Linked DNA regions of Homo sapiens: region 1 is linked to region 2. The links are contacts of gene promoters, found by promoter capture Hi-C in human tissues and cell types (Jung and others, 2019). All regions are on one chromosome and are shown on one strand. Each heading gives the region's core, a stretch centred on a gene start or on the middle of the fragment in contact. The rest is flanking DNA. Distances are from core to core; before and after follow the strand shown. Region 1 has its middle 280 kb from the start of G2E3. Region 2 holds the start of G2E3 (G2/M-phase specific E3 ubiquitin protein ligase).

Region 1 (2,700 bases), core at 171-2,670, 280 kb after region 2:
AGCACCAGAAAAAGAATCTGATGACAATGAATAGAGTGTTTGGCGTTGCTTGGATTTTCATGCGGTGGAAACATAATATTTATGGGCACATGTAGTAAGATGAAGTTAGAGTTTGAGGCTAGCGTGGTAAAAATTTTGAGTGTCATTCTCTTATGTTAGTACATTATGAACTGTTTCTTGGTTAAGTAGTTTGATTTTCAGCTTCATAAGGTATTTGGCAATATTATATTTTCAATGAAATACCTTCTATTCTCTCCCCCTAAAGATAGCTCTTTCGTCCTCTGTGCACTCTTGGGGTGTTGTACATAAAATATTTTAACTATGTAAAATGTGATAGAATATTTTAATTATTTGTTTTACATGCATCTGTTTCCTCCATGAGACTGTAGGCACCTTGGGGGCAAGAAGTACCACCAAGTCATAACTGTATAAATAGCACGTAACAGGTACCCAGTCCAATGCTTACTGCTGGGTAAATACCAGGTTCTCTGAAGCTACAGGAGGCAGGTCGCTCTCAGTGTGACCTCTGCCCTCTGTGCTGACTGCGACCTAGGACTACTTTTCAGGATTTTTATGGGAGACTTTGTAAGCGAAGTCTTTCTTCAATGTTTGATCATTAGGCAATAAATAAATATATTTTAAATTGGTCAGGAAGTACTTGATCTATGCTAGCTAGTTTTATTACTTCGATATTCCTCTAAGTGTCATTTTCTTAATTAAAAAATTTCTGCCCTATTTCTTTATTAAAATGAATTTTAGCTTCTTAAAAACAAAAATATACAGAAGACATTGAAAATATACTCCACAATCTCTCTACCTTGATAGCCTCTGCTGATATTTAAGAATAAGAAGCGTATATGTACACATTTAGACATTTCAAAGTGAACAGAAAGGCAAAAAATAAAAAGTAACTCCTCACTCTCTCTCCTCTAACCAACTCAGTTGTCCAGTGGTTAATTTTTTGTTATTCCTTGATTTACTTTAAGTGGTAATGCACAACGTATGTAACTTGTGTTTCAATAATATGGGTTCTGTTATGTTAATAAAGAATTTTTTCAGACAAATAAACTGTGTTCAATATTAAAGTGTGCATTTTAATTTTTATGACTGTTGTTAGGATGACAAGCAAATGTGTCGATGGACATACATCATCTCAACTATTGCCTTCATGTCATTACTTGGATTGCAAAAGTAGCCTCAGCCAGAAATAACTATCTTCAGTGCTTGCCTTGTAAATCTAGCCTATTCAGTGGGCACAAAGTCACAGTGGGTCTCCTTCTAACACTTAGTATTCTGCTTTAAATGATTTTAAAAATGAAATGGAGAATTTGGGTTACATATAATTTTTATACATAAACAAGTTGAAAGCATTGGGACCTTATCTTGAGACAAATCAGAATAGCTACTTAAGTTTGAGCAGGCAGATTTCTCTAGGAGTTACTCTGGCAATGATTACTGCCTAATGGGGGCAGCAGAGAGCTAAAGCCCAGGAAGCTTGAGAAATGCTTCTTCAAGGAAAGGTGCCTAACTAGTCAAGAGGTAGGGCCCAGTGAGAGAGGAACCAGAGTCTGGGGATAGATGTTACCGAAAAAGTCCAAACCAAGCTGGGCTGGATCCTAGAAATCAAGAAAAAGGAAGGAAGTTGGACATAAGTAGAAGTGAAAACTCTTGTCAAATCTGGAGGCCAGATGAGCCCTTTTGTGGCAGTGGCTAAAGACTTCCTGGTTGACGCCGCTCAACCTTAAAGGGCTTCGGGCTCTGACACAGACTTTTCAGCTAAAGCCATGTTCCTGAGTTTTAAGAGCCCGGCACTGTGTTGGGCCCAAAGAGAAATAAGATTTAGCTTCCATTATTGAGGGGCTTATAGGTTTTCATTATTGTTGAATACAAAAAGAAAATAGGCTGGGTGTGGTGGCTCACGCCTGTAATCCCAGCACTTTGGGAGGCCGAGGCGGGCGGATCACCAGGTCAGGAGATCAAGACCATCCTGGCTAACACGGTGAAACCCCGTCTCCAGTAAAAATACAAAAAATCAGCCAGGCGTGGTGGTGTGTGCCTGTAGTCCCAGCTACTCGGGAGGCTGAGGCAGGAGAATCACTTGAACCCGGGAGGCGGGGCTTGCAGTGAGCGGAGATCATGCCACTGCACTTCAGCCTGGGCGACAGAGCAAGATTCTGTCTCAAAATAAATAAATAAATAAATAAATAAATAAATAAATAAATAAATAAATGGAATGGAGTAGAAACATACTCTAGTAATGACGCATGACTTCACTGATTCATTTATTCATGTAACACTAGGAAAGCAATGGCACTCTAGTGGGTAGATCGACATTAATAATTATTAACAAAGAAATGTGATATTAGATACTTAATACTGTGAAGGAAAAGTATGCAGCTTTGTGAACATATGTCAGAGAAATTGGATCTAGGCTGAAAATCAGGGAAGGCTTCTCAGAAAATGATGTTGGTATTTCTTAAGTTATGCAAATATGCAAAATGGATCTACATTTATTGAATCATCATTGCTCTGCTATTCATTGCACTATAAGACAGTAGTATGTCATGCATACAGTGAATGCAAAGGAGTTCACATCAAAGGCACCTAATTAGTCCTGAGAATAATGTTTTCCATTAATATAATATTGTTTAAATAATTCCATTAAGCGAAAAGTTTTTCTGATGATAGACATAATTAAAT
Region 2 (2,700 bases), core at 115-2,614:
TATTTTAACTATCCTAAACACCGAGTATTTAAGTCTATTCTTCCTGGCTAACACTTAAAAGTTCAATAGCAGGAAGAATGGGGGTGCTGGAATAGCCAGCACTGGATGAAGGAATGTTTTTATTCTGATTATTATGAAGTCCTACTTTTAAAAATATATTTATACATTTAAATGGTACAATATCCTGGTGTTAAAACCTTAAAAGGAACTTAAAATATCTTTTCGTATTAAGCTACACAAAACTGACGATTTTTAATAAAGATGTAAAACTTGTACACATTTAAAGTTCCCATTTATAGTTTACATTTATGGCACACTTTTAAACCATTCCAGAAGGCATGACTTTACTACTGGGTTAGACAGAGTTCCATATTTCAGATAGTTCATCATTAAAAATTAAAAAAAAAAAAGCCCAAAACAATAAAACCCAAAGAAACAGATGCTCAAAGCATTAGTGGATTACTTCCAAAAAGACTCCATAATAACCCAGTTGGCCAATGAATGAGGGAGGCGAAAAGGCAGGGCGGTGGAACTAAACCTTATCCCTATTGTTTGCAAACTAAGACCCTAGTTAATCACCACCGCTGTTACCACAGCCGGTTTAAATAGGAGTCTCGGATTTTTGCGGTACATGAAAAATGTCAACCGTGAAAGAAAAATATCCGGGTTTTAAATACAAAGGACACTCGAATTTCAGTTTAAATCCCACTCAGGCATTTCAAAGACTGTCACTTCCCTGCAGTCCAGAGTTAATCAAGGTTGCCCGGGTATCTCTCTCAGGAGGAACGCGGAGCCACGTAGAGCATCTTTTCATTCTAAACCCGCCCCAACCTTCCATCTTTCATTAAAAGAGATTTGTTTAAACGTGGCAACGCCTTCACAGTGAGATTTAACTACTGTTAAAATTTCAGCATTCGAGCCGAATTGGTGGAAATAATAAACTACGGGTTTAAAAAAAGCCACGGAGGATGCGTATAAACAAGGTTTACTCGCGGGGGACCGGCAGGGCCTCCGAATCCTCAACACTGAGAGCTGGCTGGCGTGCGCAACCGTCGAGAGCGCTGGTCCAGCAAACGCCCCCAGTGCCCCGAATTCCCTTAGTCTCCAGGCCGGGCCCCAGCACCAGACGTCCCCAAAAGCACTGCGAGGCCCCGGCTGCGACGTCCGGCCTCCTGACACCCTCTCCCACCCCACGGTCCTGCTTCTCTCTCTGGAACGTTCTGCGTCTTCCCGTTCCCCATTTACTCACCAAGGAGAGCTGGGCAGAAGTTCCAGAGCCTCAGTGCCACTTTTCCCGGCCCGCTGTACGTCGGGGCACGCCGACCGCGAGCAGCCACATTCAACGGCCCACAGGATTCAAATTCGTCCACTTCCGCTCGCAAACCCGGAAAGAGCGGTCGGCCCCGCCCTCGAGGGGTGGGACCCGCGGAGGCGCTGGCTGTGGGGAAGGGCCCGTGTGCTCCCGCCCTTCTGGCGCTCCTGCGCTGCTGCTCGGTGCTAACCTGGCTGTGTCGCCTTCGCTTGTTTGTTTTGTCGGGTCTCTCTCCCTATTTAGGAGCTCAGAAAAACTCCGGGCGCGGGGTCATTGTTTCCGCCTATTTGCTCTTGAGGGGATCCTCTTTTTTCCAAAATGGACAGAGATGTGCTGAAGTTTCGTCACCTTCGAGGAATGGGGCGAATGAAAGCACGAACGGAGGCAGGAGGGTTTTATCTTTCCCTTCATCCTCGAGGAAACAGCAGCAGCAGCAAGAAGGAAAAAAACAAACCCTCCAAGTACTTAGTGCAGCCTTTCCTGGGCCTCTCAGTCCTATCCCGGCACAGTCAGGGCTTTTAATTTATTTCTGTCCTGGGTTTAGGGAAAACAAAAAGCCAAGTTCACCCGTATTCAGCCAAAAGTTGAAAATAAGTGGTCGGACCAATTCCTGGTCTCAAATAAACTATTTGATGGTGTTAGAAGGCAATAAATTTTATTTCCCCCCTCAGATAAGGGCTCACTTTACGAGATTATTAAGTATTGTCCCGTGAGATTATTGAAACAACAGTATCTTTTCCTTTATCGAGGACCACAGTATGTCTTTGATCCAAAACGTCTTAAGCTTCTGAAGAGACATCTGGGAGCTTCCAGAAACTAAAGGAAGGACTGGAAATGCTAGGGGGTGAGGGGCGCTAAATAACTCTGACCTTTATGGCTGTGATTGATGTTGCCACCAGATCATCCTCACATCTAATAACATTGAATTACCTAAACGGATCAGTACAAACCAAACCATGACAGCATACCTTTAGCCTTTGTCAAAAATACAGTTTGAGGGCCGGGCGCGGTGGCTCACGCCTGTAATCCCAGCACTTTGGTAGGCCGAGGCGGGTGGATCACGAGGTCAGGAGATCGAGACCATCCTGGCTAACATGGTGAAACCCCGTCTCTACTAAATGTACAAAAAATTAGCTGGGCGTGATGGCAGGCGCCTGTAGTCCCAGCTACTCGGGAGGCTGAGGCAGGAGAATGGTGTGAACCCGGGAGACGGAGCTTGCAGTGAGCAGAAATTGCGCCACTGCACTCCAGCCTGGGCGACAGAGCGAGGCTCTGTCTCAAAAAAAAAAAAAAAAAAAAAAAAAAAATACAGTTTGAAAGGTTTACTAGATTTCTGAGAACCTATGCTACAGGTAATCTGACACAGGGGGTGTGTAAAGCTATTAACT

What was found. Contacts are between HindIII fragments. The study calls those that stand out against the background at their distance.
Region 1: a contact is called between a fragment that was not itself captured here and the fragment with the promoter of G2E3 in region 2, in 2 of the 25 tissues and cell types used here (IMR-90 fibroblasts and mesendoderm cells).

Annotation. Positions count from the first base shown.
Region 1 is chr14:30,282,795-30,285,494 of GRCh38, reverse strand. No RefSeq gene overlaps it. Among named protein-coding and RNA genes, the nearest start is that of G2E3, 280 kb to the left of the region's middle. The HindIII fragment of the contact is 6,239 bases long and covers 1-2,700 here.
Region 2 is chr14:30,557,822-30,560,521 of GRCh38, reverse strand. G2E3 (G2/M-phase specific E3 ubiquitin protein ligase) reads right to left here and starts at 1,364. Exons shown (of 15, transcript NM_017769.5): 1 at 1,250-1,364. The region is part of intron 3 of G2E3-AS1 (G2E3 antisense RNA 1); the gene reads left to right. RefSeq lists an enhancer at 1,509-1,698. The HindIII fragment of the contact is 13,115 bases long and covers 1-2,700 here.